2 separate regions of the Homo sapiens genome follow, and region 1 is linked to region 2. Evidence: promoter capture Hi-C in human tissues and cell types (Jung and others, 2019). All regions are on one chromosome and are shown on one strand. Each heading gives the region's core, a stretch centred on a gene start or on the middle of the fragment in contact. The rest is flanking DNA. Distances are from core to core; before and after follow the strand shown. Region 1 overlaps BCLAF3 (BCLAF1 and THRAP3 family member 3). Region 2 holds the start of MAP7D2 (MAP7 domain containing 2).

The links. Contacts are between HindIII fragments. The study calls those that stand out against the background at their distance.
Region 1: a fragment that was not itself captured here is called in contact with the fragment with the promoter of MAP7D2 in region 2 in 2 of the 25 tissues and cell types used here (pancreas and thymus).

Annotation. Positions count from the first base shown.
Region 1 is chrX:19,965,750-19,971,958 of GRCh38, forward strand. It overlaps BCLAF3 (BCLAF1 and THRAP3 family member 3), which reads right to left. Exons shown (of 12, transcript NM_001367774.2): 2 at 4,475-4,549; 3 at 331-900. The coding sequence starts at 4,515. Among named protein-coding and RNA genes, the nearest start is that of BCLAF3, 22 kb to the right of the region's middle. The HindIII fragment of the contact is 4,800 bases long and covers 1-3,734 here.
Region 2 is chrX:20,114,752-20,121,710 of GRCh38, forward strand. MAP7D2 (MAP7 domain containing 2) reads right to left here and starts at 2,156. Exons shown (of 17, transcript NM_001168465.2): 1 at 1,999-2,156. The coding sequence starts at 2,128. The HindIII fragment of the contact is 9,946 bases long and covers 1-4,968 here.

The sequences.
Region 1 (6,209 bases), core at 85-2,584, 150 kb before region 2:
AAGGGAGAATTTATATGTGTAGAATGTCGGGCAGCATGGCTTTAAATGCAGAATGCAGTGGCAAGTTAATCTATAACCCTTTAAGCCAATTCTATAGGCACAAGGCAGTTAAAGAGGAAAATACCATCTTTTAAAAGTATTCTAGCCATCAACATGATTTACTCTAAAAAGAAATACTTCACTACTACCAGTACCCCATAATTAAATTACAATGCTTTTTGTCTTTTTAGACAAAAGCTTTTCAAGGTGGTTATCTTCAACCATAAAGTAAACAGATCTTTTCACTTGAGGCTTTATACCAAATTACCCAGGTTTAATGTTTTCCTATACCTCTTCTGAAATGAGCTCCTTGTCTCAAAGTCTTCAGAGCCTCTTCTAGTTGACTGGGAGTATTTTTCTTCTTGTATCCTCTGGTGCCTCAACTCATCTTCATGCCACTTTCCTTCAAATCTAAAAGAATCTGCTATTGACCTCTGAGGTGGTTTCCCTCCTTTTCCACTTCCTCTAACTCTGTGGTCATCAGGACTATGCCCTCCTTGCACTTTCTGGGGATAAGAATTCCTTTCATGCTCTTTGTAGGGTATACCCTCTGAGTATTTGGGCATATACTGAGCTCTCCTGTTACTGTCCCCTCTTCCAGGCGAATATCCTCTGTGAGGCTTATACATATAAACATTTTCTAAAGAGTTTCTTATGTTAGGGGAAGGTGATCTATGTTCATAAGACTGGTAATATATATTTCCACGAGAGGGAATCCTTGGTTTACTCTGTCCATGTTTCTCACTGTCCATTCTCCACGCGACGGGTCTTTTTGGATCCTTCCTATATTCACAGCCATAATGCCCGTGTGAATGTCTTTGCTTGTAGTGTTCAGCATTTCTAGGTACTGGTGATAAAGACCTATGTAAACAAACACAGAAAAGTGTAAACCATTTAATCAACTAAGCGTGTCTCAATATGACCTACCAAAAACAGTTGCTTTTCCTAGGATCCCTCGGCTTCTTCCACTCAAACTAAATTCATCAATTTGCTACATCTGCATTCTAAATTGTACATCTGGGGGTCTGATTATGGTACTGCCCAACCAACAAGCATACTCTTTCCATCTGAACTAAGGTATTCCACGTGCTTATCCAAATGAGCTGAGCACACCTGTCCCATTGGAGGAGGGCCAGCTTAGGTGCACAGCAGGATCCATTTTGGAAGACTGCTGACAGCAAAGTTCTGGCAAAAGAAGATGCAGTGACTTCAAAGGGCCAGTCAACAAAAGCTTACATCCAGTTCAAAGGCCAGGTAAGAAACAAGCAGGAAGGCAAGACTCACACAAATCAATGTGTAGGAGGGTCTCCAGCAAACTGAACATTACCTCTGACAATAAATTAGAGTCTAAGATTTAATGATGCTACAATTCAAACTCAGACCCAAGCCAGGCCCAGAGTTTCTCCAGCTGATTGTCTACTTTCTCTACTAAGGCTGTATCAAGGAACAAAACATATGTACTTAACCGGGGGAAAAGGGGGAACAAGAGGCTCTTAAGACTTGAATCTCATGCTTAGTTCCTCCAGAAATACCTCTAACATAGGTAAGTTGCTTTTCTTTCCCAGATCTGTTCCTTTGCATATCTATGGAAAGATGTGCTGTTCGAACAGAGCTTGTAACTTCGGTGAAGTTATACTTTAAAGCAGCTACAATGCTCTCCAGGGACAGCACATCCTTTATGGAACTACCTTCTCCATACCTCAGCATTGCCAACATTGAGGCTTGTGTTTCCACTAAGGCGGAAGGCTTCTGTATCCAGGGAAACCAGTCTGGGTTGCCTAGACGTAAAGAGAGGTGTGCCACTATCTGGGACACAATAAAGTTCCATTTTGCACCTGGGGACCTTTCCACCATCTGAGCTGCCCAATTTCTCCATCTCCTCCCTGAGGGTTTAATGTCTTCTAATCAATGAGGAAGCGATCCTTGCAGCTTCTGTTATGGCTCTCTCTTAGAAGCTGCCATGGAGTTGGCGCAACCATGAGTGAAACCCTTTCCTTTCGATGATAAGTCTGTGCCCTCCCTACAAGAAAGGAGGCAGATCTACCTTCCTCATGTACCTACTAGGAGTTATATACTGAACTTGGCAATATTGCCCTCTGGAGTCACCAAGCTAGACATACTGGCAAGTGTTATTTAGCTAAAGCAGAAACTCTGCCATCCAGCTGGCTACACCTCATCACAGGAGGAAGCAAGTGGAGCCTCTGAGGACTTCCTGGAAGATTTCATCTCTTTCACAGCCAAGGAGAAAAGCTGGCAGCCAGAGTCAAAGGTCTTGCAGTCTGGATGGAATTCCCAATAACTTACTTTTAATCCTTACTTCACATTCAATATCGGTTTGATATGCTATTTTATATGTTTCATAGCACAGTGTCCCTTTCTTCCGAAGAAGTTTGCTGGAACAGTTGCTATTGTTTTTGGTTTTCCTAAAGGAACAAAAAAGACTCAAGGAGTCTGTTGGGAGATAATTCTCCACAGTCTCTTGAGTTCTGCACGCCTTGCGAGCGCCCTGTGAGCAGAGGCACTGACAACCTTTGTTCTAAGGCAGTGTTGCAAGATAGAGATAGGGTCTCACTCAGGGAAAAGGGCTGATGTGTTTGCTGTCCAGGATAATAAAATAAATGTCTCCTCCAAGGCAAAGGCTGCATGATGGGTTTATCTGCAGCCCCTGATAAGGGACTCATGTTCCTCAGTTGTACTATAACCCCACTGCCTGTATGGAAAGCTCGCTGCCTCACGGCATCCATCCAGTCAGTGGCTCTGCAGTCCCAGCCCTCACGGGACCCAGAGGGTGGGGGGAATGACAGGAACATGAAGCTCAAGCTGCTTGCTGTATTCTGAGTAATAAAGGCCTTTGTCTCTGACCCAAGAGTGCCCTGTGGCAGGCTAATAATGTGTTAGTTTGCAAGTAAGGTAAAATATCAGATCCTTTATAGTTCTTAACAAAGAAACCTGAGAAGGAACCTGGAACTCAGGCACTAAGCTTGGCAGGGTCTCTTGTGCCCCTCATCAGCGCCTTTTGTCTTATCAAGAAATGACCTCTGTGGGCCGGGCGCAGTGGCTCACGCCTGTAATCCCAGCACTTTGGGAGGCCGAGGCGGGCGGATCACGAGGACAGGAGATGGAGACCATCCTGGCTAACAGAGTGAAACCCTGTCTCTACTAAAAATACAAAAAATTAGCCGGGCGTGGTGGCGGGCACCTGTAGTCCCAGCTACTCAGGAGGCTGAGGCAGGAGAATGGCGTGAACCCGGGAGACGGAGCTTGCAGTGAGCTGAGATCACGCCATTGCACTCCAGCCTGGGCGACAGAGCGAGATTCCATCTCAAAACAAAATAAAAATAAAAAAAATAAAAATAAATGACCTCTGTGATACCCTGTTAAAATCATTCACTTCTATACATTCCCTTTTCTTTCTCAAGTTCCTTGCCATTGCAAGTGGCTCCTGTGAATTACAAAATGAAAACTGTTGACAAAATGATTGATTAGTTACTGCATAACTGAAATGCACAAGCAAAATGGGCAAGTTATCTTAACATGAAAAATCTTGGTCTGCCTTTTTTGTGTGAAATGATGGTCCTTTTTAAGTCCTAGAAAATACTAGTCACATTTACAGCTCGGTGCCTTTGCTCCTGCTCTCCCCCTTAACTAGAATATTTCTCTTCACTCTTTCTGCCTTTAGAAGTTCTACACATCCTGAAACGCCCAGATAAAATTGTTTTCATCTCTTCTTTGAAGACTTTCTTAGTACCCTCTTTTTCCTCCACAAAAACAGAATTATTTCCTCCCTAGAAATCCAGAATCCTTTGTCCCAATAAGTAGCACAGCATTTTCCCCACTGTATCATAGTTGGCCATGGTGTCAATCTCCCAGCCCAACCACGTGCTTGCTGAGGCCAAAGAAGATGGCATATTTGCCTTTGTAGCCCAAGAACCTGCCTGTAGCAGGTGTACAATAAAGACTGGTTAAATTGTTCCAATCTAATGATACATAATTTTGATACTACCAAGAAGGAAGGAGAAATGGACTATAATCGAACTATTCAAAACTCTATTATTCTGCCATGAAGAAGAAAGAGGAAACTCCCTATTTTCTAACTCGAAATTTCTTTAAACATATTAATTATGAAAAAATAAAATGAAATCCATACTGAGGAGTTCTAAACTGCTCACTAATTCAAAAAATGTAATACTCTCAAAGATATTTCTCACTCTCTCTTGCTGTGGCCACTGCACTGCTTTTCATTATTTAACTCTAGCCACCTGCTATGATTAAACAAAGCTGTCAGCTACTAGAATGTAGAAATACAACCTCCACTATGATAAAGTACCTACTGTGAATAACCAGGTCCCATGAGCTTAAGTGTTTACTAGTACTGGTGAAATTGAAAGTCACAGCACATCCCAAATCCAAGCTTACTCTGCTAAGAACTGCTCACCTGTGTTTCCACCTGGGGGATCTAGATCGTGACCGTGCCATCCTTTGACACGTGAGCCACTATCCACTTTTTACACTGCAAAGAAACACAGGATTAGCAGGTTTGTAGAAAGACCCTACAATTTGATCTAAAACATAGCGAATGCTGCCAATTGACTTAAACCCTTTGTGCCTCAGCTTCCTCATCTCTAACATGGAAATGATAATAATAGCACCCCTTCTTATTGGAATGTTGTCAGGATAAAATGAATTAAATCAGGGGTCAGTAAACTGTCTGCAAAGTGCCAAGTGGTAACTATTTTAGGCTTTGCAGGCCATGTAAGGTCTCTGTCACATCTGTTTCTTCTTTTTTTTAAAGCAACTCTTTAAAAATGTAAAAATGTGACAACATTGAGATGTGTCGTAAGTGTAAAATCCACATCAGATTTCAAAGAGTTCATATAAAAAATGTAAAATATTTTATTGATGTATTTCTAATATTAACTACATGTTGAAATATTTTGAATATACTAGGTTAAAGGCACTATGTTGGTCAAATTAAAAAAATAAAAGTACAAAAACTATTTAGCTCAAGTGGGTCATACAAAAATAGGCCCGGCAAGTCAAATGCATTGTAGTTTAATGACCCCTAAATTAAATCATAAAAAGAGCTTATTGGTGTCTGGCAACAGCAACTGCTAAATAAGTATTCCAAAAAGAGGAAAAATTACCCAGAATTCCTCTATCTGAATACAAGCACTACTACTTTCCTGTCTTTCACCATGTACAGAAACACTTCATATAATCACAGTTTAAATGTTTAGGAATACGTGATGGTATACTCTGCTTTTTAAATTGTTAGATTCTAAGAATTATAATTTCTTCTTTTAAAATTTCTTTTCTTTTGAGACAGGGTTTTGCTCTTTCTCCCAGGCTGGAGTGCAGTGGTGCGATCACAGTTCACTGCAGCCTCAACTTCCCAGGCTCCAGCGATGCTCGACCTCCCAGGTAGCTGGGACCACAAGCGTGCACATCCGCACCTGGCTAATTTTTGTATTTTTGGTAGACACGGGGTTTTGCCATGTTGCCCAGGTTGGTCTGGATCTCCTGAGTTCAAGCAATCCTCCGACCTTGGCCTCCCAAAGTGCTGGGATTACAGGCGTGAGCTACCACATCCGGTCAGAATTACAATTTCTAATACTCAACTGCTGCCTAACTTTCCACCAGACAAATATGCCCAAAATATAATTGAACATTATTAGACATTTAGTTTGCTTCTGGTTTTTTGCTAAAACAAATAATGTCAAATAAGTAAATTTTAAAAGGCACTTCTAAACTTGATTTTTCAAATATTCTTCAGTCTTTAAAAGAAACTGATAGCTTCGGAAACTGAATTTTAAAAACACATAAGTAGGTATAATCTCCTATACTAGCTATTATTTACAACTCAGTAGTCCTCCTCAGTTCTGATACGAATATTAAGTAGTTCCTAACTTAGTGGTCCCAAACCCCTGGTGGCTTCTAGAACGACTGCCATGGGCTCATGAATTATCATATAGCTACCGTGCACAGACCACAGAATAAATAAGTGTATGTCTCATATATTATGCACCTCGATTTTGCAAATTTCTGAAGACACTATGGTGAAACTAAAATATAAAGGCTTCTTGTCACTATGCAGTTTTTCCACCCACAGATACAAAAAGTACAATTATTATGTAGACATCAGTTTAAAAGGCGGTCCTCATACTCAAACA
Region 2 (6,959 bases), core at 906-3,405:
TTTCTGTATTTTGCAGCCTTGACAGCACCCAGCCCAAGCTTAGGAACAATGGTTGACTCTCTAGAAAAGCAGGTTAAGTCTCATTAGGAATGGGTCCCAAATGCTAAGGGCCTGGGTAACCAAGAATGATCAGTATCCAGGACAGATAATTATAAAACCTCAAAATCATAATTTTTCTAAGGAGACTTTACTTAAGTACCTGGCCTTGCTAACTCCCCCAAACAACAAATGGTGGTATCACCTGGCACCTAAATTAAACATTCCAATTTTACCATACCAACCTTAATGCACATAGGTGCTTATTTCACATTTTAAACCTTCACACATATTTTTCTATATTTCCAATTTCAAATGAAGGAAGATATCCTTAAGCTAATCTTAATATCAGAAGAGTGCATTAAATGATTCTACAATAGTTTCCAAACAGAACTTATTAAGAATCTCCCCCGCAAAAGTACCTCCTCCCCTTCCCCAATTTTGTTTCCATTAAAAAAAAAAAAAAAAAAACCCCTTAAGTTCCTTCAAATAAAATCCAAGATACACTGAAAACCCAATCATACCGCCCCTCCCCACCTCTCATGAGTACAACAGAACATCGAAACAAACTATTATTTAAGCTCTCAACCAAATAAAAATGCAAACTGAAACAACCTCTCCTTTTCAGTGTTTTATTATACAAGGTCGCCTCTGCCACGGAGGGTCGTTCTGGTGGGTAGTTTCCAGGTTCTTCCCTAGCAGATGCAGCTTGAGTGTTTCAAGCAAAAAGGATAAAAACAAAAGCACACATTTCAAAGGTAGTTATAACGTTATCCTGTGACAGTTAATGAATTCTGCCTTTAAAATAGCATAATGAAAAATACAAACTGGAAATGATTTAAGCTATCTCCTCCTCCTAAGAATGATGCAACTGAAGGCCCAGTCAGAAAATACTACCTCGCCCCCTCAACCCCAGTGAAAAAGCGTGTTTTAAGAAGATTTCTCTTGATTTCTTTCCTTTTCTTGGCCCATCGTATATAAAATACTCCCATCTTCACTATGTGATAATTCATCGAATTATAGTTTTGTGTGGTTTTTTAAATGCATATTAGACTGCAATAAAAAATGTTTTAAAAATAGCCTGCCTTATTAACTAAAAATAAAAAAGTTGTTGTCAGGAAAAACAGCATGAAATCGGTTTCCATGCTGCTTACACCCCCGCACTACCTGCAACCACTTTACAGAACGTTAGCATCAGACCTGCTTATCTAAAATCCTGCCAAATGTCCTCACAGTCTCCTCCGCTGCCTCGCTGGCTTCTGGGCAGCCAGGGACCAGCCCTCCATGGCTCCCAGCATCGGCAGCCTCGAGGGCTGAGAGCCTTGTTTGCCCCGCTGCCTCGATTGAGGGCCGCGGCCCGGCCACCTGAGCAGCGTTCCCAAGACAGGGAGCGCATCCGGGCGGGAGGAGCACCCGGTCCGGGGCAGACGCCTGGCCGCCCGGGCGAATCTGCCTCTGCCAATGGGTGACACGCCGATTTTGCCCCCTGGAAACGCCAAGAGGCGCGAAGCTGGGCCACCTTCGCCGCGGGCTGCAGCGGCGCTCGCGCGCGTTTCCCAGAACGCAGAGAGAGCGCGCGCGGAGGCCGGGGCAACCCCAGAACCCCGCTCGGTTTATCCTAACGACCCCCATGCCGGCTGCTCCTCGAGGACGGGGACTGGACCCGCAGCACCCCCTCAGGCACCTCCATCCCAAACACACCTGCCGCCCACCCTAAGCCACCCCCCATGTGTACCCACTCACCCAGGTCGCCCCAAGAAAGAACCCCGCCACTCGCACAGAGAGGGGTGCGGCCCTTGGATGCACGTCCGGACGATCCTGGGCCAGGGAAAGGGCGTTTATCTCAGCTCTGCGCCGTGCCCCTTCCCCCCACGCTCGAGGACCTTTGCCCTGGGCCGCCGGGCCCGCCCCCCCACAGGAACCCGAAGCCCTCGGGCGCCCGCCACACTCTGGGGATAATACCTTGAGGCCGGTAGTTGGGCTGAGAGGTCCGCACCGCGCCCGGTTCTGCGATCTTCCCTGGGAGAGAGGTTCCCCGCGCAGTCCCCTCAGGCCGGGATCCCGTCCCGGAGCCGCCGCCGCCGCGCTCCATCGGGATGCGCCGGCCGCACAGGCGCACTGCCAAGCCCGCCGCGCCGCACCGAACCCGCGCGCGTCCGCATGCGCACGCGTCCTCACGCAGCACGCGCGCAGGGCGTGCACGTGCGATAAGCGCACCGGTTACCACGCACAGCGCACGCAAGGCGTGCACGTGCGATAGGCGCACCGCTTCCACGCACAGCGCACGCAGGGCGTGCACGTGCGATAGGCGCACCGGTTCTCACGCGGCGCGCGCTTGTAGCGTGTGCATGCAATGTGCACAACAGTCCTCACACAGCGCGTACGGGCGTGCACGCGTCCTTACACGCTGCTGTACACAGTGCACACACAGAAGGCGTGCGTACGCACACAGTTCTTCATACGATGCTTACATGCAACATGCACACACAACGTGCACACCCAGCGTAAATGCATCTTCTCACAGTAGCAGATACACACTCAAAGCGTGTGTAGATGTAGGGTGCAGTTTCTCAGACACCGTGCACACACATCCTCACTCAATGTGTGAACACAGAGCACATAACGCGCACACACGTGCTCACTCAGCACGCACACGCTTACACTCACTGGGTGTCTGCATGCAAACTCAGCAATGCAGCCTTGGGAACAATTTCTGGCTAGGCCCCCAGGTGGGTGCCAGTTGGGCCAGTGACATCTGTGCAGACGCCAGAGGACCCGCCCTCCATGCATAGTTAGGTTCCAGTTTTCGAGGCGCACGGGTAATCAGTGTTTAGTGACGCCCCACCCTCAGCGTGCGGTCACCCAGAGAGGGACAGCAGCAAGCTATTGGGGTCGATCTTCAACTAAGAGGCAGCGGCACGCGCCGTAGGCCGACCTAGGCCTTTCAACGACACCCTACTCCGCAGCCAATTTGGTTCCTCTTCTCCTGAGGCGTAAATAATGCTGACTGAAACCTCCGCGATGCCGGGTGTGGTGGCTCCCGCCTGTAATCCCAACACTTCGGGAGGCTGACGCGGGCGGATTGATTGAGCTAAGGAGTTCGAGACCCCCGTCTCTACAAAAAAATTTTAAAAATTAGCTGGGCATGGCGACTCATCTGTGGTCCCAGCTACTTGGGAGGCTGAGGCGGGAAGATCGCTTGAGCCCGGGAGGTCGAGACTGCAGTGATCACGCCACTGCACTCCAGCCTGGGCGACAGAGACCTTGTCTCAAAAGCAAAATAAAACAAAAAACCTCTGAGGAGGATCTCTCCGAGAAGACACACAAGAAACTGCTAAACGGGTTGCCTCCTAAGTAGGCACTTTTACCACTGCCATGCACATTTATTATCTTTTCAAAAACATTGAAAAAGACATCTTGGCAGGGCCGGCTCAAGCCTTTTGTTTACCCAGGCCTGCCAAGTGATAACCCGTTCCCATGGAGCCCCAGGCTGCATGTTTTTTCTCGTTGGAAGGTGACCAGCCTGAAAGTTTTATTACCACTCCTGGGGGGAGATATACACGATTAAAAATGAAGCTGAATAATGGGTACAGGTTTTCTTTTTTGGATGAAAATATTCTAGGATTATGATGAGTGCACAACTAAGTATACTAAAAACTATTGAATTGTACATTTTAAGCGGGTGAATTTTATGGTCCCTTAATTATGTCTCATTTTTTTTTTTTTAATGTGAAGCTGAAACTCTCAGGAATGGGCACCTGTACTCTTGGCCAAAGCTGGGAAAGTCCCTTTGTGGCACAAAAAATGTTTGTGATGAACGTGTTCCTGACACGCCCAAAGGTGTGCCGGGAGTAGGGTTCAAGTGTGGTGAGAAAGCCAGGAAGTTTAAACATAAATGAGTAGGAAAGTGAGCAGGTGGGGGCTGGTACCCTGAGCTGTAATGAAAACTCGAACACATTGAGATTAAGCCAAATTAAGAGCGTGGGAGCTGTCACTTTCTCCTCCCTTATCTTAGGGACCTTTGGTGAGTTCAATTCATCCAACTCTTGAGCTCATGGACATGTGTGTGTAGCATCCCTCTCTACTTTTATTCTATTTTTGGGGTCCTTTTACTTTCCATTCCTCTCCCTAATTATAAACACCTCCTCTGATATCTTTGCAGCTGCAATTTTGAAATACTGTTTTGAAGATACGCATGTATTTTAATTGTATATAAATGACACTGCATAAAAGCTATCATTCTATTTGTTTTTCCTCTCTTGGCATTGTTCTCAATCTACACAAAATGATTAGCCATTCTATCTGGTTTACCCTTCTGTAAATTCCCTGTTCAATCCTTGCCCACCTTTCCACTGGGCTACTCTGGTTGATTTCCAGGAGTTTCTTGTATTCTAGATAATTTCTGGTTTAAATGTTGCAAATATTTTATCCTAGCCAACTAAGCTTTTTAAGATTGGTAAAATTTTCCTTAATTTTTATGACAAAATCCTATTAACATGTTTACTCCATTTACAATATTGCCCTATTTTTTATCAACTGTTTTTGAAAGTTACATTACAAATACTTCCATGTGTATTTCCTAAGATTATGAATGTTCTGTTACACATACTAGAGTTGACTACCAACTTAAGTTTCACATGGATACAGTAATTTTCTCTCCATTGGCTGTTCCTCCACCTTAGAGGTAGTTTTCCTCTTGCAAAATGCACTGTGGTGAGGCACCTTAAGGCTATGCAGGTACTTACTCTTCGTCAAAAATTCTCTCTAGATTTAGCATCCATTGATGGTTCTTGCTTGATCTGATCTCATAATGATTACGAAGTGATAAAATCCATAAATTTTTCACCTTATGGTTTGCATTTTAAGAAGTCTTAATACGAACTTCCCTAGTCCCAAGATACTCCCCATTGCCCTCATGCTTATAGTAAAAAACGTAAAAAAAAAAAAAAAAAAAAAAAAAAGTAAAAAATGCTTTACTCTTAAGCAATTTTTCTGTATAGGGTGAGGTAAAGAGCCAAATCCACTTTTCTCTCCGAAGTGTAGTTTGGTCAGCACTACCTGCTTACCTATCCTTTCCCCAGTAATTTTTGAAGCCACTTTTTAAAAAATCAAGTACCTAATTTCCATAGTAGGTGAGATAGCTTCTGAGCTATCTATTCTGATCTTCCTGTTACTGCATCTATTATTCACTACTATGGCTTAGGGTGCAATTTATTTGTTGAATTCCCTCTTAGCAGTGTTTCTAGAATTCTTTGAAATTCAGTATTTCCACATGAATATATTTTAGGATGTTTTTGCAATCTCCCACCAAGGCCTGCTGTAATACTAAATGTAATTATATTGAAGTCAGAGGTTAATTTGGAGAAAATTGACATTTTCGACATTATGACAGAATATCCAATAGTGTAATTTCTATTTAAGCTTTTAAAAAAAATGACTTTCGAGTTTTCCGTGCTTTTCCCACTACACTAACTTCCTATAAAAATCTATAGCATGGCCGGGCGCAGTGGCTCACCCCTGTAGTCCCAGCACTTTGAGAGGCTGAGGCGGCCAGATCACCTGTGGTCGGGAGTTGAGACCAGCCTGACCAATATGGGGAAACCCCATCTCTACTAAAGATACAAAATTAGCCGGGTGTGCTGGCGCATGCCTGTAATCACAGCTACTCAGGAGGCTGAGGCAGGAGAATCACTTGAACCCAGGAGGCCGAGGTTGCGGTGAGCCAAGATCGCGCCATTGCACCCCAGCCTGGGCAACAAGAGCAAAACCCTGTCTCAAAAAAGAGGTTTTTGGCCGGGCATAGTGTCTTACACCTGTAATATCAGCACTTTGGGAAGCCAAGGTGGGAGAAGCACTTGCATCCAGGTGTTAGAGACCAGCCTGGACAAAACTGTGGGACCCCCATCTCTAAAAAATAAAAACAAAACATTCGGGCTTGGTGGTGCACCTGTAGTCCCCACTACTTGGGAGGCTGAGGTAGGAGGATCACTTGAGCCAGGGAGGTTGATGCTGTAGTGAGCTGTGATATGGCGTCACTGCACTCACCCTGGGCAACAGAGCAAGATCCTGTCTCTAAATAAATAAATAAATGAATGAATAAATAAATGGCTGAGTGCAGTAGCTTACATCTGTAATCCCAACACTTTGGGAGGTGGAGGCGAGTAGATCACTTGAGGTCAGGAGTTCCAGACCGGCCTAGCCAACATGGTGAAACCATACTAAAAATATAAAAATTGGCCAGGTGTGGTGGCGCATGCCTGTAATCCCAGCTACTTGGGAAGCTGAGACATGAGAATCGCTTGAACCCGGGAGGCAGAGGTCAGTGAGCTGAGATTGCACTATTGCACTCCAGCCTGGGCAACGGAGACTCCATCTCAAAAAAAAAGTTAGTGTCTCTGACAATGCAATAAAAATTTATTAACCTGAAGAGATTAATCTCATACACTGGTACATCCTAACCTTTGAGTACACATCTTTTCAATATTTCATGTGACAAAGTGGGGAATACTACACAAACCTCTTCTGCATACCAATGTACAGCAGTTGTCTCAAGGAAAAGCATTTGTGATAATTTGTATTCCAAACAACTGGACACTTTCATGAAATATCATTTTTACTTGAAAGAAAAGCTGATAAGCTGGTAATTCAAACTTGGATTTGTGTTCAACATTTTTGCAAAAACGAATAAAATTAGCCTGACACTTCAAGGGAAACAAGTGACCATATTTGTTGGTGGTGATAAAATTTGGGCTTTCCAGCATGAAAAAAGTTTTACAAAACTAGTATCTGCTACCATTAGCTTGACAACTTCACTAAAGTAAGAACTTTTCTGAAGAGACAGTGACATTAATGAAATGTGGCATCTTAATACTGTAGAATGAAAAGGGTCAACATATGGAAGATCATACCTCTGTCAGTTTTTT